4 separate regions of the Homo sapiens genome follow, and regions 1, 2 and 4 are each linked to region 3. Evidence: promoter capture Hi-C in 16 types of primary human blood cells and fetal thymus (Javierre and others, 2016). All regions are on one chromosome and are shown on one strand. The core of a region is centred on a gene start or on the middle of the fragment in contact, and the rest is flanking DNA. Distances in the headings are between cores, read along the strand shown. Region 1 overlaps APP (amyloid beta precursor protein). Region 2 overlaps APP (amyloid beta precursor protein). Region 3 holds the start of APP (amyloid beta precursor protein). Region 4 overlaps APP (amyloid beta precursor protein).

Region 1 (5,430 bases), core at 1,201-3,700, 210 kb after region 3:
GTAGAACTATCTTAAACTTGGTCTATTTTAGATTCTCCTTGAAGGGCCAGATCACAAAGTGATTAGGAGAAGGAGGCTCTGGAGCCAAGACAGTGAGACTAACCCATTCTTCAAATCTAACACTAACTAGCTGTGTAACCATTGGGCCAGGGATGTAGCCTATGTAACCACAATCTCCTTTGTGCTTCATGCCTCACCAATAAGGTGGGGAGAGCTGCTATGACTCTGTCATAGGGCTGAGACGAAGATTTGATGAGTTACCAGCAAAAAGCATTTAATATACTGTCTCATTCAGAAGCAGTCAATACACATTGAACTCTTATTACTTAGAGGAAAGAAAGGGGTCGATGATTTATAGATAAGGCCTGAGTGAAAGAAATAAATGTGTATTGAGTATCAGCAATGGACTACGCATCATTCTGGGTAACTATCACTGAACACATTTAATCTGCAAATACTATCTGAAAGATACTGCCATCTGAATTGCATAGGTGGGAAAAGTCAAGGCTTTTGTGCTTATTTTTAAATGTATGTTAACATGAATAATTAATTGGCCGTGCACTGGTCGCACGCCTGTAATCCTAGCACTTTGGGAGGCCAAGGCGGGCAGATCACGAGGTCAGGAGATGGAGACCATCCTGGCTAACATGGCGAAACCCCGTCTCTACTAAAAATACAAAAAAATTAGCTGAGCATGGTGGCACGTGCCTGTAGTCCCAGCTACTCAGGAGACTGAGGCAGGAGAATCACTTGAACCCAGGAGGCGGAGGTTGCAGTGAGCCAAGATCACGCCACTGCACTCCAGCCTGGGAGACAGGGCGAGATTCCATCTCAAAGAATAATAATAATAATAATTAGTGGGAATATATGCTGTTTGTTGTGATAGGAGAAGAAAAGGGGAGATCCAGATGTTGGTCATCAGAAATGACCTGCATCTTCTCTAAATTGAAATTTAGCTTGAAGTAGTAATGCCAAGGCCAGCCTGGGGCCATGGCATCCTGGTGTACCTGCTTGTTGGTGACAGTCCTTTTAGGACAAAATATCTTACAAAAACATTCATAGATGACTAACTGGAAAAAAAGAAGTTATGATGAAAAGCAATTCTTACTGTTTTTGTTTTTTGTTTTTTGTTTTTTTTAATTAAAAGACAGGCAGTTATTCTCTTTCCCAGGCTTGAGTACAGTCGTGCAATCAGGGCTCACTACAGCCTCAACCTCCTGGGTTCAAATAATCCTCCTGACCAAGCTTCCCAAGTAGCTGGAACTGCAGGCATGTGTCACTGCACCTAGCTAATTTTTAAAATTTTCTTGTAGAGACAGGTTCTTGTAATGTTGTCCAGGCTGGTCTCAAACTCTTGGCTGCAAGTGATCCTCCTGCCTCAGACTCCCAAAGCAATCCTTACTTTTTTAATTGAAGTGCTTTTTTTTTTTCTTATTTAAACTCTTAAAAATTCATCCCATTTTCTTCAAAACAATAAATCCTTTACAAGGGAGAAAAATGAAATAGAGCAACTAAGAAAGCATCCATGAAGGCCAGGAAGGAACATCATGGTTAAATGCGATTAGTCACAGCCCCTTCTGTCTCCAGTCTTGGATGAATAATGGTAACAGAACTAGAGAGATTTCTAAGACCTTGGTGCTTAATAACAAGCAAGCATCGAGGGTGGTTGTGCAAGATCCTGATCACACAACTCTGCATATCAAATATCCTTCACAATCAACAAGAGTCAGCCTTTAATCTCTGATGTTTTCAAATGTTCTTTTTTTTTAATTCACATGTATAACCTATCCTCTTTTCAATATATAGAGATATAGCTTATCAGTCATTACCTCTTTTACTACTTTTCTTCTGAGATTTAAAAGGTCATCCTCTGATTTGTAAATTCAACCAGATTTCACAGTTCAGATGAGAGTTGTAATAAGTTGCCAAGAACTGTTGCAAGCTGTGATGGCTGTCTTTCTGGGGATTATAGAGAAGCACATTTCTTTTAGGAAAAAAGAAGGCAGATGAGCCCAAGTTGTTTTATTTTTATTGTGTATATGTATTTGTTTTCTCAAGTACAGTAGCATGGCCTCTGTGGCAGGCATTCACCAAGCAAATACAGAGCACCCTCTGGGTCAAGCACTGTGTTATTGGGGTTCCAAATAAAGAAAAAAGACCAAATCCAGCCCTGTGGATCTCACATTAAAGAGGGGAGTAAGAATCATAGATAATTTAATGAGTTAGGTACATTAATGGGGATTTGCACAGTATTTCATAGGAGCACAGAAAAAGGGTACCTCGTTCCACCTGAGATGGCAGGGAGATGGCTCCTAAGTTAACTAAGCAAAAGGGGAAGGAGAGGCACATCCCATAGGATATGGATAACACAACAAAAGCTCCATTACCACCCGCCCCACCACCACACACACCATCTCTGGAATAAATTTTGTACCTTCCAACTGGTTTTCAGGGTACTCATGACACATGGGTTAATAATAGCTAGGTTTGCCCAAATGACCAAAATTCTATTCCCAACATGAATTTTCACAACTGGTTTTTTTGTTTGTTTGTTTTAATGAAGAAGAAATGTTGTGTTTTTGGAAATCATCTTACAAAATCATGTAGTGGAATGCATATAGTGATGAAATTGTTGAAGACCAGGGAATCTTTGTCCTTAGTTTTTATTAGGATGGATGTTTTCAGGTAAAACTAAAATAAAAATGAAATGGAACCAATTAGAAAGAAAATAGGAGCACTTAAGACGAAATGTAATTGTTGCTGAAAGAATTAGAATCTGATAGCTTAGAAAGAACTTAATTAAATTTCAGAGTAAAATAAATACAGTTTAGCAATGGCCTTTCTCCTAGAAAAATATAATGTCTCTTACAGTTCAGTTACTCCTTGGCTTACAAAATAGTGGTTAAATTTCCTGTTTTTCTCATTTTGATTTCGTATGTTACATGTTACTGGTGATGGGATTATCTGTGTGACATTACCTCTGGTCTTCAAAATGTACACGTAGCAATGTAGTCTCACATATGCCCCTTGGGTGCGAAAAGAGAAGGACCTAACTTAACCTGACAGACCTCAAATCTGTTCTCTTTCTATAGCAGAGTACTCCTATTTAAAAAGAAAATGTTGAGTAAGGAGGACAGTCATCATATATGTCGAGAATGTTAAATGCTCTTGTGGAAGTGAAAAGCAGCCGATCTAAGTAATTACCCATTAAGAAAGGAGTAGGAGAAATGTTTAGAAGGCAGACCTGCAAAAAGGTGACTCACAGTACGTTCACATGACCGGATGCATTAGTGGAACCTCTAACCCATCGCCAATGGAAGAAGCAGTGTTTTGCACAAACTTGAAAAAGAGTTTTTCATTTTCCTCCCACAGCCTCGTCACGTGTTCAATATGCTAAAGAAGTATGTCCGCGCAGAACAGAAGGACAGACAGCACACCCTAAAGCATTTCGAGCATGTGCGCATGGTGGATCCCAAGAAAGCCGCTCAGATCCGGTCCCAGGTAAGCGTGGGGTATAATCATCTTCTGCAGCTTTGACAATCCAGGATTCTTGCTTCTTGGGTTGGTGACAGGATCCCACGCATTCTCCGAGCACCTATAGGTGTTTTCCCTATGGCAAGAGCTCTTTAACTTCTGGTAAATTCTAAAAGCTTGTCTTAGAGCAATATGTGGTTTGGCATTTTCTGAGTTATGAAAATAACAAATGTAAAAATCTTAGTCTACTGCTAACTGATTGCTAAGGAACTGATTAAAACCAATGACTAAAATGAGAAAAACAAAAGTTGTATAAACTAAAATCTTGAAAACTGGTTCAACTGAAGTATGGCAGGCAATCATAAACCTACTGGAATGTTGAGATTTCATGTGAGCCTAAATGAAGCCCAGTAATAATGTATTTTATACTCCCCGGTTCCCAAAGGCTGAAAACTGGGATCTACCTTAGGAAATGTGAAATTTTACATTTTCTTGAATGAAAGAGTTAAATATATATAGCATGAAATAGCCAATCAAATTGAAATACGTTGTTTTCTAGGGGGAAATTTGCAAAGAAATGTATTTAGGCATGAGGGTCCTGTTAAGAGAGCCTCAGTATTAGGAATCAGAGGTGGCAGAGGTAGCCTTTTTAATTGGCTGTTATAAGCATACAAGATAATGGTAAGTTTCAAGATCAAGTCTTAAACCTGAGCTCAAAAAGTTAGAGAACAGAAATAGGAGAACAAGAAAAATAAAGTTGCCCTTTCAGTTCAACCTTTTTAACAGTAGCAGTGTTTTGTCAGTTTTCTTTTGGAAGTTTGTATCTACCTGCAGTGCTTGGTAAGAAAAATAACCTGGGCGACAGAGCGAGACTCCGTCTCAAAAAAAAAAGAAAAAAAGAAAGAAAAAGAACCATTCCTACCCCCAGACATTGTTGACCTGGAGTTGTCATCCTTTGATGCAGGTTATGACACACCTCCGTGTGATTTATGAGCGCATGAATCAGTCTCTCTCCCTGCTCTACAACGTGCCTGCAGTGGCCGAGGAGATTCAGGATGAAGTTGGTAAGTAAGCTGTTCTTTTGATGCTGCACATGGACATGTATTTTCCCCCAGAGGAAAATTGAGGAAGTGAGTTATCTGTTTGAGGAATATGGAAGTTAATAGAACAGCTTGCCTTTTACGATGAAACTGTCAGGCTGGAACTAGCTTACTAGCCTTAGCAATTGAATCAGTTCTTACCTCTCCATACTTGTAAGACTGGAGGAATGTCGCCTGACTTAGGGTATAGTTTTGTAATAATTGGACACTTGTTATTGAATTATACGTGGCAGCATTTTTTCTAATTTGCCCAATCTTGTTATGGCTCTCAAATTATGATGCTTTGGTACTTTACAATTAATGGGGAAAAAAACTCATTCTTCATCTTTTGAGTGTCACGATTGTTCCATCTTACAAATGAAAAAGCTCAAACTTAAAATTTGAGTAACTTACTGGCCTGTGTCACATGCATTATAAGTAGCACAGCCAAAACACATAACTGTGACTTGTGACTTTGAGGTTATTGTTATATTCAGTAAGTCACAATTCTCTTTGATGGCTGAGCAGGGAAGCCATGAGTGTTCTCTGAACCACATCATTGTTTAAACTTAAAAGATAGTGGGCTATTAAACTTATATTCTGAAATAATTGTACTCTCACAAGAACTTGGAAAAATAGTACAGAGAGGTCTCATGCATCCATCACCCACATGCCTCACCAGTGACATCTTACGTAACTATAGTCCATTATCAAAACCAGGAAACTGACCTTGTGTGCCCACTGTCTTTTATGTCCCTAGTTTTCCTAATGACTAATGATTTCATTTAAGATCTCTCATTTCTGTTTCTCTTGGAAAGAGAATAAAATACCACATGAGTCTCTGTCAGCTGCCAAAATGCCCATAACTGTTTAACTT
Region 2 (4,843 bases), core at 557-3,056, 230 kb after region 3:
TGTGTGGTCAAAAGCCTTTCAGAAATCAAAGTGTGTCTTTAAATACCTGGGGTGCAAAAATCAGATGTTTTTTATTTAAAGAAAAATAGGTATATTAGAGCAGAACTGGGGGCCCTCTGTAGGAGCCTGAGTCTGGGTGTTTACTGTCGTCTAAGGCCTTGTTAATGTGGGCTTGAGGCTTCGGAATCCACGAACAGGGGAAGCTAGCGTCTCTCGCTGACTCCAGTCCTAGCTCGAGCTTTCCATACTGCCCTACGTGACTTCTGCACTTTTGTGCCATCAGCCAGTAGACTGAGAAAAGTATCTGGTATTTGTCGGTGTCTTCGGTTTAGCTGCTTTAAGTCCTTGGATGGAAAAGGCTGATTGTCATCCTGAAATCATTGTCTCCTAATGTGTAATTGGGGCCAAGTGAAGCACAGTAATTTAGAGGAATTCTAGTTAAAAATACAGATTCTTGGGCTCTACCTCAGACCTACAGAGATCTGCATTTTTCTTATTCCCCCAGGTGATCCTTTAAACATTCAGAGGTTTTTAAAACTCATGCTTATATGCAATAACAAAAATATAAGGATTCTTAGAAACTTGTTATATTTGTCTTGAACATGGGATGACAGACATTGTCATTTTCATTGAAAAAAAAAATGAAGCAGAGACTCAGAATGTATTTAGAGACAACTCTAAATACATTCTGGCAGAGCCTAACTACTGGATTGCAGAGATCCTCCCTGCTTCCCCCAGTCCCCATCTATAAACTGGCCATGTGAATTTCTAGTGGTGTTCACTTCCAAAGTGGTGATTTTATAAAATATTACAATGAAGCATTATTAACCTCAAGAAGTTCAGATGCATAGAGAGTTTATTTGGGTGTGGCAGCATTAGTGGCTAGGTTTTATTTATCCAAGATAAGACTTCTTATTAGCTATGAAAAGGGATTGGCATAAACTGCTTATTAATGTCCATTAACTGTATCTAAAGGGAATAAACAGTATAAAAGGCCAGGCATGGTGGCTCACACCTGTAATCCTAGCCCTATGGGAGGCTGAGGCAGGAGGATCATTTGAGCCCAGGAGTTTAAGACCAGCCTGGGCAACATGGGGAGACCCTGTTTCTACAAAAAGTCAAAAAAATAATAAGCTGGGTTTAGGGGTACACACCTGTAATCCCAGCTAGTCAGGAGGCTGTGGTTGGAGGATCACTTGAGCCCAGGAGTTGGAGGTTGCAGTGAGGCCTGGCGGCACCACTACACTCCAGGCTGGGTGACAGAGGGACGACCTTATCTCAAAACAAACAAAAACAAAAAACTGTATAAGCATAAGATGGGCTTGAGTCACAAAATTCTGCCTTTCATAACTTTCCCCCATTTGCTGTTTGATTTGCTGTTTCAGAAATTGTGAACCTACTTCTCTACTTATAGAACATTTACCTCCCTCTTAGATTCTTCCCTTTCTATCATTGATACTGACATTCTGCTTAAAGAATTATCCATTTAGGCTCTCTTCAAATCCAAAGTGATATTATTTTATTTTAATAAGAGATGAAAGGGAAAATTGACAAAATGTGCCTGGAGTTGTCAGCATTGTAAATGATGGACTGTAAAAGCTTCGTCTTGGAAGATTGTCAGAGAGCCTAGTGCCAGCTCAAAAAGTGTGGTCTTTTTAGAGAATTGACAGAAATGTTACAAAGAAAACATGTGCTGAATACCAACTCCAGGTGCGAATCCTGAGAAGCAACTCACTCTATTCTGCAGTAGGAGATGAATTTTGCAGGTTATACAGCAGAGCAATTTAAACTCCCTTGTTTCTTAAAGTATATCCTATAGTGACTTGGGATGGAAGTCATATACTATCCCCTTTTTTGTTCCTTCAAAGTAAATACACCACAGAGCTGGAGATGTCCCAGACACAGGGGGAAGCTGTTTGGATTTTTCCCACTGCCTGTAATGAAGCAAGATAGGGAGGAAGAACTTGGGAACTTGCGTGGCAAATGGTCAAGTAAAGAAAAAGAAAAGCTTTTTCTTTACTTGACCATTTGTCACATGTGCTTTCAAATCCTGAACTGAGTCACATCTGAAATAAATCACTTCCTTGTCATTTCCATGAAAGGGGCAGTACAAGAAATTCCTTGCACATCCCTGGTGAGCCCCTTGTTACTCTCAGATTCAGCTATTGCCTTCAGGAAAAAAAGAAAAAGAAGCCGAAGAAAGAAAGAAAACAGAATCCTCTAGAAAAAGCTATTCTGACCTGTGCTCTTTCTTTTGTCTGAGTGTGACTAGATAAATGCATTAGTCTGCTAGGGCTGCCATAACAAAATACCAAAATACCACAGACTGAATCCTTCAACAACAGAAATTATTTTTCTCATGCTTCTGGAGGCTGGAAGTCCAAGATCAAGGTACCAGCAGGTCGGTTTCTGAGGAGGCCTCTCTTCCTTGATTTACAAATGGCCACCTACGCATCATGTCCTCACATGGTCTTTCTCAGAGAGAAAGAGAGGTGTCTCTTCCTCTTCTTCTTTTGTTTTGTTGAGACAGAGTTTCGCTCTTGTTGCCCAGGCTGGAGTGCAATGGCACGATCTTGGCTCACTGCAACCTCCACCTCCTGGGTTCAAGCGATTCTCGTGCCTCAGCCTCCCGAGTAGCTGAGATTACAGGCATGCCTGGCTAATTTTGTATTTTTAGTAGAGACAGGGTTTCTCCATGTTGGTCAGGCTGGTCTCGAACTCTCGACCTCAGGTGATCCACCTGCCTTGCCCTCCCAAAGTTCTGGGATTACAGGCGTGAGCCCCGCACCCGGCCTCCTCCTTTTCTTATAAGGACACCTGTCCTATTGGATCAGAGTCACACCCCCATGACCTCATTTAACCTTAATTATCTCTTTAAAGGTCTGATCTCCAAAGGTCCCTTGAGGGTTAGGGCTTTGATACATGAATTTTCAGGGGCACACAGTTCGATCCATAGCAGTTGGCTTATTCATACTTTGGGTAGATCCTCTTCATCGTTCCTCAGCTACTGTCTATTTAGTGCACAGCTTCTTTATCCTAAAGCTAGTCAGGGGAGGCATGGAAGGTATTATTTCTCCTGTTTCTGCACCTAAGGCATTAAAACGAGGTTGTGGTCTGGCAGCCTAAACTCGGCCTTGATGAACTTCAAATCCTAGACCTCCTTGGTATGTGAAGTGCATACACTTGTATGGAGGGATTTGACAGGTTTTTTTTTTTTTTTTTTTTTTGAGACAGAGTCTCACTCTGTTGCCCAGGCTGGAATGCAGTGGCACGATCTCGGCTCACTACAGCCTCCGCCTCCCGGTTTCAAATGATTCTCCTGCCTCAGCCTCCTGAGTAGCTGGGATTATAGGCGCGCACCACCACACCCAGCTAATTTTTGTATTTTTAGTAGAGACGGGGTTTCAGTATGTTGATCGGGCTGGTCTCGAATTCCTGACCTTGTAATCCACTCGCCTCGGCCTCGCAAAGTGTTGGGATTACAGGTGTGAGCCACCGCGCCCAGCCCAGATTTTTTTAAATTAGTTTTTAGTGTATCCACACTGTTAAAGCAGGTGGATACTGCTGGATAGTATAACAAAGTATAGTGTGACAAACCCATAACCAAGCATTGTTAGCTATATTTTCTCATGTCTTGAGCCAAAAGGTCACAGTTAACCTAATGTTGCTACTAAACACTCATACCATAAAACATTCTATTCCAGTCTTCCAGATTTTACACAAGAATAAAATGAAAACTTTTAGACTACTGGAGATTTTTTTTTAAATACACAATTTGTTGAATGTGAACGCTAAATTGAAATTGACATGCTAAGTTTTATAGATTACTTCAGCTGCCCTGACTTCAGTAAATTTAGTTGTGACACAGGTACAACAGCTGACTTCTTTCTGGCATTAGAGGTGGTGATGTTTCGTCACTCTGGAGTTAGTAAAACCTGAAACCCGCCAGGCATTTGACACACAGTTTGCTGCCAGGGACAGCTCAGCTTCTGGCTTATTGGAGAGGAAATGACCTAACCTCTGTGTTTACAAAGTGTTTGAAACTGAGGCCCTTCCACTTCCTTGCTGAGTGTAAGGGTTGACCTGGCATCCAAAATCCCCATGATCTTCTCAGGATAAGTCATGCAGCCATTGGTGGTCAAGAAAGGATTTGTTCCCTGTGGAAGGGCATTGGAAGAGGAACAGAGCTGAAACACACGGGTGTTCAGAGGGAAAACATCTCTGCACTTAAGAGGGCTAGATTAGACTATTAGACTATTATCATAGAGCTCGTGATTCATCTCCTTTGTTTAATTCCAGCCTTGAGTAAAGGACTCACTAAGAAACCACATTCGGCCGGGTGTTGTGGCTCACGCCTGTAATCCCAACACTTTGGGAGACCGAGGCAGATGGATCACAAGGTCAGGAGTTCAAGACCAGCCTGGCCAATATGGTGAAACCCCGTCTCAACTAAAAATACAAAAATTAGTCGGGGATGGTTGCGGGCGCCTGTAGTCTCAGCTACTCGGGAGGCTGAGGCAGGAGAATTGCTTGAACCTGGGAGGAAGAGGTTACAGTGAGCCGAGATCACGCTACTGCATTCCAGCCTGGTGACTGGAGCGAGACTCCATCTCAAAAAAAAAGAAACCACATTCTATTCCAGTATATTTATTATAACCAGAAATTCTTGTCTTATCAGCAAATAGCTAATATTCACTTACATGGGCAGTGTATTAGATTCCTAGGGCTGCTGGAACCAGTTACCACAAACCGCATGGCCGAAACCAACAGAAATATACTCTCATTATCTCATTATTCTAGAGGTTAGAAGTCCTAAAGCAAGGTGTTGCCAGGGCCACACTGC
Region 3 (5,350 bases), core at 280-2,779:
CCCTGCTGTCCCAGCTTCATGTCACTTACTTGCTATTAGATTTGGGAGTTCATTAGCTTCATTTTCCTGATGTATAAATAGGAATAATAGTAACAGCCTCTTTGGCTTTTGTAGGAAGTAAATGACATGAAGCGTATAAACAAATACTGCATGACAATAAATATTTGTCCTTATTTGTTGAGGACATCCAAAGGACATTCAGGGGCAAAAGTAATCCAAGAGTCAAGACTGAATGCCTAGTGCGGGAAAAGACACACAAGACAACATTTAGGGGAGCTGGTACAGAAATGACTTCCCAGGAAGGAAGTCTGTACCCCGCTGGCTGAGCCATCCTTCCCGGGCCTAGGCACCCTTGTCAGCGCAATGAGCAAGGGAGAGAAGGCAGGCTGCAGTGCAGCCCTCAGAAGGGCCAGAGCACTCCCTGGCTTCAGTCCTTCGCTCCAAGCCCTGTGTGGAGTGGGCTGTGGCTTGGTAACTAAATGCTACTTCAGGTCAAGAGCAGGGGATATATCTGGGCAGTTCTAGAGCATTCTAAACTATCTGGACACTAACTGGACAGTGGACGGTTTGTGTTTAATCCAGGAGAAAGTGGCATGGCAGAAGGTTCATTTCTATAATTCAGGACAGACACAATGAAGAACAAGGGCAGCGTTTGAGGTCAGAAGTCCTCATTTACGGGGGTCGAATACGAATGATCTCTCCTAATTTTTCCTTCTTCCCCAACTCAGATGGATGTTACATCCCTGCTTAACAACAAAAAAAGACCCCCCGCCCCGCAAAATCCACACTGACCACCCCCTTTAACAAAACAAAACCAAAAACAAACAAAAATATAAGAAAGAAACAAAACCCAAGCCCAGAACCCTGCTTTCAAGAAGAAGTAAATGGGTTGGCCGCTTCTTTGCCAGGTCCTGCGCCTTGCTCCTTTGGTTCGTTCTAAAGATAGAAATTCCAGGTTGCTCGTGCCTGCTTTTGACGTTGGGGGTTAAAAAATGAGGTTTTGCTGTCTCAACAAGCAAAGAAAATCCTATTTCCTTTAAGCTTCACTCGTTCTCATTCTCTTCCAGAAACGCCTGCCCCACCTCTCCAAACCGAGAGAAAAAACGAAATGCGGATAAAAACGCACCCTAGCAGCAGTCCTTTATACGACACCCCCGGGAGGCCTGCGGGGTCGGATGATTCAAGCTCACGGGGACGAGCAGGAGCGCTCTCGACTTTTCTAGAGCCTCAGCGTCCTAGGACTCACCTTTCCCTGATCCTGCACCGTCCCTCTCCTGGCCCCAGACTCTCCCTCCCACTGTTCACGAAGCCCAGGTGGGCCGTCGGCCGGGGAGCGGAGGGGGCGCGTGGGGTGCAGGCGGCGCCAAGGGCGCGTGCACCTGTGGGCGCGGGGCGCGAGGGCCCCTCCCGGCGCGAGCGGGCGCAGTTCCCCGGCGGCGCCGCTAGGGGTCTCTCTCGGGTGCCGAGCGGGGTGGGCCGGATCAGCTGACTCGCCTGGCTCTGAGCCCCGCCGCCGCGCTCGGGCTCCGTCAGTTTCCTCGGCAGCGGTAGGCGAGAGCACGCGGAGGAGCGTGCGCGGGGGCCCCGGGAGACGGCGGCGGTGGCGGCGCGGGCAGAGCAAGGACGCGGCGGATCCCACTCGCACAGCAGCGCACTCGGTGCCCCGCGCAGGGTCGCGATGCTGCCCGGTTTGGCACTGCTCCTGCTGGCCGCCTGGACGGCTCGGGCGCTGGAGGTGGGTGCCGCGCCTCGGAAGGCGGGGGGAGGCTGCACGGTGGGGACGCGATACCCCCCAAGACCTTAACCCAAGTCTTTAATGCAGAGAAGCCGGGGGTCCGTCAATGGGACCCCTCTCCTCTCCGCCCCCGCTTGCGGACGTCCAGCGCATCCCCGCTTTCGGCCCAGCCCTGCCCCAGGGAGTCGCGCTCCGGCCCGCTGAGAGGGAGCGGGCGAGGCGCTGGTCTCCCTGGTTCCGCGCCAGCCCGGGGCGAGAAGGGTAGGGGGCGACCCTGAGCCCAGACCCCGACTTAGTCCCTGCCTTGGAAGCGGGGGTCGGGGGAGGCGAGAGACATTCAGACAGGGGGGAAGGGGGAAGGAGCACGTGGGGAAAACCGAAAACGCAGCGTCCCTAAAGCCAGTCCTTCGCTCTTGAATCGTTGCCCTTTCCTTTCTCTTGGGCCCTGGGGAGGAGGAGGAGGAGTCGGGACAGCCCAGGAAGCTAGGAGCCCCTCGCTTTTCCCTGCGTTCTCCGCCTCGTTTCACCTTCCTCTCTCACCCCCATCCCCCTTCCTTGCTCCAACCTCTTTTCGCGGCTGCTGGCGGCGGCAGCCTGGGTGCGACCCTAGCCCGAGCCGGCGTCGGGGTCGCGCACCGCCTTCCACAGGCAAACTTTGTGCATGTCCGCGTCTCCCTTTTGTGTAACTTGCGAGAAATGGGAGGGGTCGGAGACCCATAGCCACCCCGCGCCTTCCCCAAGTCTGGACGTCCCGGGAGTTCGCTCGCACCCTAAGCTCTGTCTGAGAGGCAGAAGGTCCGCGGGAACAAAAGCCGCGACACCCCGCCCTCGCCGTGGGCCGAGCCGCGTTAGTCTCAGTGCGCCACCGAGGCTCCCGCCCGGCTCCCTTCCCGGGGCTGCGCGTCCGCCTGGGAGGGGGCAGAGACGCTGCCGGGGCTTCTGGCGGAGCCTCGGGGCCCCTCTGCTTCCCACCCTCGGATCACCTCCGAGGCTTAATTCTGTGCTGGGCTGTAAAGTCCTTGGCGGGGAGGAAATAAGGCGGAGAGTGGGATGTGCGTCTGGAAAGGGCAGTGGCGGATGGTGGGGAGGCACGGGCTCTGTCCTGTGCATCCAAGGAGGCGTTTGTCTGATTAAGGCGCGGCCTCTTCCCTGGCAGCTCTGGGGACTCTGGTTTAGTTCCCCTGGGGGCACAGGATGCTGGGGAGGGTCCGAAGGGTCTTTTTTTTAGGGTGCAGATAAAAGGATCGAATTGAGTGAAGATTAAGACGGAGAAGATGGCGCCTCTGCAGTGCAGCAAAGAAAAGCTGTGTGGAGGCTGCAGCCTAGTGAAATCCACCCACCACTAGGTGTATAACAAGTCTTCCCCATTCATCCAACTCTCGAACATTCAGCTAACGCCTGTGCACAATGACTGTTTTTCTTTACATCTGAAGATGCTTAGAAGTTGTTTGCATGACAGTTGGGCCAGAGGAGGCTGTATTTCACTTCGGACTTCGGTTGGGTTCCTGTTTGGCATCTTAACATTTGCAACCTTCCTTACCCGTTTTTCCCCTCTTTTCCCCCAGCCTCCTAGTAATTTTCCAAAAGAAAAAAAGCAATTTCCGGGCAGATGTTTTCCTGTAATTCCACTGAGGCTGTACAGACTATCACACCATTAGTTTTTTAGTTTCTAATTTGCAAGGTCATTGAACTTTTTTCTCTTCTGATTTTTACCCACAAGTGGCTCAGGAATCACCTTAGGGCTAGTTAAGACAGGTTGTTTTAAGAGTTAAAGAATTTCGTTTTCCATGTTTTAAAAAAATGCACTTAACTAAGAGAATTCTGATTTCTCTCATGACTTACTTACATTTATTTGTAGAATTATTCCAGTTTTCCCGAATGGTCTTACTACAGATTAAAAACCATACATTTAAGGAATTAAAAGCATATGATAACCGTATTTTTGAAGCTTTTGTCAAAACTTAAATATGTAACTTTGTTGAGCAATATTTCTTTCTGTATAAAAAGAGGAAGCATGTAGGCAGATTCGAATTTAGTTTTTGGTCTGTTTAATTGCATTAATATGCTCTTTCTGCCATCTTTTGGGACCTTTTCAGTAGCTATTGTTAACTCCTTTAAAGGGTGGAGGTGAGATTCACATTATGCCATTTTGCGAAGTGTTGGTAGAAGGGTAGGTAATTCAGTCTACTGAGGTTTGAGGGTGGTTTATCTGGTTCTCTCTGTGTCCACTGAAAAGATGTAATTACGAGTTGACTGTCTTTTATAGAGCTTAGAAAATAGGTCTGCTGCAGGTGGCTGTAGAAAAGAAATGAATAAGGGCAATGATAATGGGGCCTTGGCTATCGGGGGAAACATGGTTATTATCTGGGTTGATGATTTTGGCTGGTATGTTGATAGAGGTGTGAGTTTAACAAACCCTAATCTATATGATGTTTCACTACCCTAATATTTATTTATTTATTTATTTTTAAATCTAGCTTCCTCTTAAGTTTTATTTCCCTCTGTTGAGGGTTTAACCTAGTCACAATCATCTTACCTTTGTGGTAGTGCTAATTTATAGTTTATGGAAACCTGCTGCTACTGACTAGTACCTCGCTAAAGGTAGAAGCCGACACACAGAATAGTAAAGCTCAGGTTTGATGGTGATCTGTAAGGAGTCACGGTTCTTGCTAATCGATGAGAAACCATGATAACTGGCAGACTGCAGAAGCTTTTCTCTTGTCACCGGAACCAGCAGAGGCTCCTGAACGACATTTGCAAGGCTATTAGTACTGCGGAGAAGTTACTAGATGGAATAATACTGGTCCTGACTGAGGAAATGAAAAGGAACATGCAAGTTCACGAGGTTAAATGAGGAATGGCTGATTCAAAAAAATTAAAAAGAAATAACGTGATCAACAATATTGGTTTGAAGGAATGGGAGAGGTTGTCTTTATGTTAAGTCTTGTTGCTAGAGGATCTCTATTTTATGTTACTGTTTTTTGCATACTAGAGTCTTCTACAGATATTTGTATGAATGTTGTCAGTCATTCTGGAAATAAGCATAGCTATTACTTGCATTTCACGTGGCCACTAAACTATCAGTGAGAAGTGCATTAAATTCAGTAGAAATGTACATTGTTTCTGCAAATTGTATTACCTTGAGAATCTTACAAAGCATCTTTCATTAATACATTTCTTTTAAAATCTCTATCAATTACAAATGTAAAGATAAACCTGTACAGATGCATTTTAAATTTAAAGCTTCCAGAATGTAAGGTTTAGTTCGACTGCATACCTCATTACCTCCCCTTCCCTCCTCCCTCCCCTTACTCCCAGGAAGTTTGCAGGGTAAATAAAACATGCACATGATAATAAAACAAAGTGGAATGTACTAAAATACCAAAAGGAAAATACAGATTAGGTATACTGAGTAAATATGTTACAGAGAAAACTTCCTGTATTTAAAAAGTAAGGAACAATGGGATGAGATCATAGATAATCCTGGAGCATTTCCTGGTAGTAAATTTCCAGCCAGGTTTATATCCCAGGTCTGGGGATTGGAGGTTAAGTTTCTGCATATACAATATTTGTTTACATTCCTCTCTGCCTCTACCAGACAGACAGACAGACACA
Region 4 (5,555 bases), core at 1,332-3,831, 190 kb after region 3:
GGCACGTGCCACCACGCCGAGCTAATTTTTGTATTTTTAGTAGAGACAGGGTTTCACCATGTTGGCCAGGATGGTCTCGATCTCCTGACCTTGTGATCCACCCGCCTGGGCCTCCCAAAGTGCTGGGATTATAGGCATGAGCCACTGTGCCTGGCCTAGGTTTTTATTTTTAAGATAAGCAGCAACATTTTAAGAGCGCCCCTTTCTCCTGTCACTAAATATAAATAAACTTAGCTCACCTAATGAATTTTTTATTTTATAATAAAAAATTGGGTACCACAGGGTACAAAAACATGATCTTTAGAGCCACAGAGATCTTGGTTTATATTCTTCCCTCTCCCTTTTTTACCTGCATAGCCTCGAGCTGGTACCTTAACCTGGTTCGTAAAATGGGATGGCCCTGGCTAATCTCACAAGCTGTTGTGAGGAATCAATTAAATTAGATAGATTTTGTAAAGCTCTTAATACAGGGTCAGCAGTAATGCTACTTGTTATCAGTCCCACAGTGAAATTCACTGTTCACAGGGAGATGGTCAGCCTACATATAGTGTGTATTCATTTGCAGTAGAGTCTTAGTGGGATGGTGCAGGTGATTTGTTTATTTGTGGGGGTATAGGATATTGTTAAATTGTTCTGAAAATCAAAATGTGAGTTAATTTCTATAGTAATGCTTATTTGCAACTCATTAGCTAAATAAATCTCTTTAATTATTTCATGGATTCCCCCAGCTTAAAGCTTAAAGTCCAGTTTCTTAAAGTGTATGAGGTAAAATGGAAAAAATGTAAATGTAATATGGGAAATCAGTTCTCACATTGCAGTAGAACATTGAACTTCTATCTCAAACTAATTTTGAGATTCCTTGCTTGAAGAATTGTTGGTAGAGTACCACCACTGTGAACATTCCCAAAGCAGGAAATTGAAATATTTATATTGCAAGGCTTATCTCATCTATAAAGCAAAGATGGTCTTCCATTTCCCCCTTGCCCACAGGTTCCCTTTATTAACTTGGTAGAAGCACCAAAGCAGATGGGACAATATGTTTCTTTTCTTCCATGTTCTATTCTTGTTCATTGCAGCAGGGCATTTGTCCCAATTTTGCTGTGAACCTTGAGATTATTTTTGATATGCTTTTCAAGTGTAATGAAATATTTATTCCATCTTGTTTCCTCCATGGTTTTACAAAAACAACAAGAAGAAGCTAATTGCCTATCATATACAAAGAATGAATGCCAATGGACAATAAAATCTGTAATTAGGAACCCACATGGTGATTTGATATAGTATTGTCTCATAGAAGTCTTCTATCTATAGTTATTTATTCCAAGCCTCTTTTTCTTTCCCATCTTGAAGTATGTTAGAAGAGTCTATTCCTTAAGGCTAAGTACCTACAAAAAACAGGCTCTTATAATACAGTAATCAAGTTTTCTCATGCTTTGGGAGTACACAGAGTATGCAAGTACACATCTGGCACCAAACCAATATTTTGTTTCCTTGATCTTTCTTCATTTTACCTAGTTCAGAGTTGCACTTCAAACAAATTCTACTTGTCATACACTTGAAAAGGCAGCTGTAGGTGGTAGGAAGTTAATATTTTCTTTGAACAACATACAGAGGTGCAGACTTTTACTTTTTGTATCAGGTTAATGAGTGAACTTCTCTCAGGGAAATCCAGGTGAACATCAAAGTTGAGAGCAGGAAGCATTGATTTCCTACAAAACACATTCACCTGATATCTTAGTCAGTTTGTGTTGCTATAATAGAATACCCCAGCCTGGATAATCTGTAAAGAAAAAGAAGTTTAAAATTCGGCTCTCAGTTTTGCAGGTGGGGAAGTCCAAGAACATGGTGCTGGCATCTGTTGAGGACTTCCTTGCTGTATCATATATGGTGGAAGGAAGAAGGGCAAGAGGAGGGCAAAACTGAGTTTTATAACAACCCACTTCTCACAATAACAAACCCACTCCCCCCATAATGATACTAATTTACTCATGAGGACAGAGACTGAATCACCTCTTACAGGACTTACCCCTCAACATTGTTGCACTGGGGATTAAGTTTCCAACACATGCTTTTTAGGGGTTACATTCAAACCATAGCAGTTGGTTACTAAATTAGTGCTACTTGTAAAAAAATACATGTTTGCTGCATTCAGAATATTACATGTTTTCTTGGAGTTTTTGGAAGGACTTAGCGTAATCCTTGCTGTTCATGACTTAGGTTGGCAAGCTCAAAGGGCCTTAATTCCCCATCAGTTCTTTAAAGGGGGATAGGTCTTAGGATATTAGACAGCAGAAGTCTTCTTTTTCTTCCCCCATTATGTACTGCTTTTTGGCATTGTATTCATGACACACACACACATAAAATGTCATATTTTCTTTAAAGTCAAAATATACAGTTTAAAATGGTTTCAGTTGCTTTCATAAGAGAGTAAAACTTAGGTGTTCAGTTTAATATTGGAAGACCTTGTTCAGTTAATGTGTGCCTTCCATGAATAGTTGGTATTTGTTCACATCAAATCAAATGACTGTCAGTTCTCGGGGTAAAAAAAGACCAACCTTGACTCAAAAAGCTATATTCCTGCAATAAATATGAACATTTATGTTTAATATACTGCTGTGATTAATTATTTATATCCTAGTGGGAGGTCAAATATTCTTCAGATAGGAAGGGGTATGTAATAAATTTTTTAAATATCTAAAATGACAAAAATAGAGGAAAAACATAATCATCCATCCTATTAAGTCTGTATTCAAAGGATGAACTGATGATTTTAAATTCAAATGTTTCCTTAATTTATAGGTCATGAGAGAATGGGAAGAGGCAGAACGTCAAGCAAAGAACTTGCCTAAAGCTGATAAGAAGGCAGTTATCCAGGTAAAACCTGAACCCATTTCCTACCAAACATCACATGCCAGCAGTCTTTTTAATGAGTGTCTGCAGGTTTACCTTTATCTGCCAGCACCTCACGTGTGATTGTTCATAGTCCCATGAACTTCAGCTGTTCTTAATCATTGTCTAGTAATTGAGTTGTTTAAATCCTGCCTTATATTTGCTCCCAATTATTTCAAGTTATAATTCATTGCCATAAAACTCACATTGTAACTTGCAATCTACTTTTTATTAATAATACATCTTTTCAGTCACCACAATCTTCTGCTGCTTCTCCCTCCAGCAAAAATTATGAGAATTTGAATTTTTGATGGAAACCAGTCTCAAAATTACCTTAAGTAAACCAACAGTTTATTATGGTCAATTACTTGAGGTACTGTTAGTAAGAGAGGGATTTTTTTTTAATATGTAATATAAGAGTTTCAAGAGTGCATATATTTATCCAAAGTTATTAGTCAAATCAGCCTTCAGAGAGCCTATGAAATACTGATTTTCAATGAGAAAGTAGGTTTGATGAGGGTTGGAGAGTGCAAGAAAGTGAAGTAAGCTATAAAACGTAGAATTAGTCAATGTTGGAATGACTATGCAGTCTTTAGGATACTTTTTAGCACTAGAAGAAAATGGAATAGGATGTCTTTTTTAGAAGACTTGAAATTGCTGCTTCATCCTACTTATTCAGTCCCCATGGACATATGTGTTTATGATGGCAGCATTTCCAGGAGAAAGTGGAATCTTTGGAACAGGAAGCAGCCAACGAGAGACAGCAGCTGGTGGAGACACACATGGCCAGAGTGGAAGCCATGCTCAATGACCGCCGCCGCCTGGCCCTGGAGAACTACATCACCGCTCTGCAGGCTGTTCCTCCTCGGGTAGGTCTCGCTGCAGCCGAGTTCACACTTCAGGTCACAGCACAGACAGTAAGGGTGGGGCACTGGGAACTGGAAGCCATACAAAAAGAATGAGGAGAAATGCCTTGAGCACTGTTATTCAGAGGTTCAACCCCTGTCCATTCCATCTTGAAGGTCAAAGGGTCACAGGGCAGCTACCTCCACAAGGTCATCTCTACACAGCAGGTACTCACACTTCCCCACAGAGCAGCCAGACAGGACTCCCAGGGACTCACATTGCAAGCCCTGACTTGATTTAATATTCCTGAGGTGGTGACAATTGATGGCATAGTTCAAGTTCGAACACAAAAGCTGGAAGGATGTCTTCCAGTCCCTTCAGGCTGCTGTAACAGAATACCATAGACTGGGTACCTTATCAGCAACAGAAGTTTATTTCTCACAGTTGCAGAGGCTGAGAAGTCCAAGATCAAGACATCAGCATACTTGGTTGTCTGGTGAAAGTTTGCTTCCTGGTTCATAGAACTTAAATTTTGTTTATCTTTTATTTATTTTATTTTTGTTTTTGTTTGTATTTTGCTGTATCCTCATATGGTGGAATGGGCAAGAGAGCTCTCTGGGCCCTCTTTTATAAGGGTACTAATGTCAATCTTGAAGGCTCTGCCCTCATGCCTAATTGTCTCCCAAAGCTTTCACCCTCAAATAGCATCACACTGTGGCTTAGGTTTCAACATATGAATTGGGGGTGGGAGAGACACAAACATTCAGACCATGGCAAAGGATTTTAGAAGTAACCTTGCCCAGCCCCCTCATCATGTAAGTATAATAATATAACTAAGGTCAAGGAAAGTTGAGATTTGGCTGAGTTGTAAGAATTTTTAGTGGACCAGAAAGAATTAGAACTCAAATTTCCATCTCAGAGCAGTGGCCATATTCTCTGTGGGGAAGCATTTGTCAGTCATGACATTAGCAATGATGAGACTTATTCATGGTTTTCAGTGATCATTGCCCCAAAAAGGCATGTTGAGTGGTACAGGCATAGATGTGTTCACCGGCATTCTGTGGGAGAGCTTACTTGGAATGGAAGGAACTTTCTGAGCATGAGTGTGTAACTTATGTCCACTTGTTCTTTTTTTTTTTTTTTTTTTTTAAATGAGATGGAGTCTCACTCTGTCACCCAGGCTGGAGTGCAGTGGTGCAATCTCAGCTCACTGCAACTTCTGTCTCCTGGGTTTAAGCAATTCTCATGCCTCAGCCTCCCAAGTACCTAGGATTACAGGTGAGCCACGACACCCAGCTAATTTTTGTATTTTAGTAGAGACAGGGTTTCAACATGTTGGCCAGGCTGATCTCGAACTCCTGACCTCAGGTGATCCACCCACCTCGGCCTCCCACAGTGCTGGGATTACAGGCGTGAACCACCATGCCCAGCCATTTGTTCTTTCTGTTTGTCATTGAGCAAGGGATATTGAAAGCTCTGCCTGTGATTGTGGACCGGGCCATTTTTCTAAACAGTGCTATCAGTTTTTATTTTGTATAGTTTGAGGCTGTGTTTTTAGGCGTGTAAATGTTCCAGGCTGTTAGGCCCTCCTTGAGCCTCTTCTTATGAAATGATCTTTTTATCCTTTGTAATGTTTTGCTCCAAAATCTACTTTAATATTAATAAAGCTATTCCAGCTTTCTTTTGATTAATATTAATGTGGTGCATTTTTCCATCCTTATACTCTTATTGACCTTGTTTGTCTTTATATTTGAAGTGTATTTTTTGTAGGCAGCATGTAATTGGGTCTTGCGTTTTCCTTTGGATTGGGAAGACCATGT

The links. The method cuts DNA at HindIII sites, captures the fragments that hold promoters and counts their contacts. A CHiCAGO score of 5 or more calls a contact.
Region 1: a fragment that was not itself captured here is called in contact with the fragment with the promoter of APP in region 3 in 9 of 17 cell types (endothelial precursors, M0 macrophages, megakaryocytes and 6 more); the score reaches 7.8 in endothelial precursors.
Region 2: a fragment that was not itself captured here is called in contact with the fragment with the promoter of APP in region 3 in 11 of 17 cell types (megakaryocytes, endothelial precursors, naive CD4 T cells and 8 more); the score reaches 12.3 in megakaryocytes.
Region 4: a contact is called between a fragment that was not itself captured here and the fragment with the promoter of APP in region 3, in 13 of 17 cell types (endothelial precursors, naive CD4 T cells, fetal thymus and 10 more). The highest score is 9.6, in endothelial precursors.

Annotation. Positions count from the first base shown.
Region 1 is chr21:25,953,698-25,959,127 of GRCh38, reverse strand. It overlaps APP (amyloid beta precursor protein), which reads left to right. Exons shown (of 18, transcript NM_000484.4): 12 at 3,373-3,501; 13 at 4,439-4,538. Among named protein-coding and RNA genes, the nearest start is that of APP, 210 kb to the left of the region's middle. RefSeq lists an enhancer at 3,265-4,464. The HindIII fragment of the contact is 2,405 bases long and covers 1,248-3,652 here.
Region 2 is chr21:25,934,224-25,939,066 of GRCh38, reverse strand. All of the region lies in intron 13 of APP (amyloid beta precursor protein), which reads left to right. Among named protein-coding and RNA genes, the nearest start is that of GABPA, 200 kb to the right of the region's middle. The HindIII fragment of the contact is 409 bases long and covers 1,602-2,010 here.
Region 3 is chr21:26,166,949-26,172,298 of GRCh38, reverse strand. APP (amyloid beta precursor protein) reads left to right here and starts at 1,529. Exons shown (of 18, transcript NM_000484.4): 1 at 1,529-1,735. The coding sequence starts at 1,679. APP-DT (APP divergent transcript) reads right to left here and starts at 1,432. Exons shown (of 4, transcript NR_186396.1): 1 at 1,247-1,432. RefSeq lists silencers at 1,177-2,006, 2,507-2,776 and enhancers at 1,794-2,318, 2,817-3,026. The HindIII fragment of the contact is 2,642 bases long and covers 1,044-3,685 here.
Region 4 is chr21:25,973,273-25,978,827 of GRCh38, reverse strand. It overlaps APP (amyloid beta precursor protein), which reads left to right. Exons shown (of 18, transcript NM_000484.4): 10 at 2,800-2,874; 11 at 3,600-3,758. Among named protein-coding and RNA genes, the nearest start is that of APP, 190 kb to the left of the region's middle. The HindIII fragment of the contact is 3,688 bases long and covers 738-4,425 here.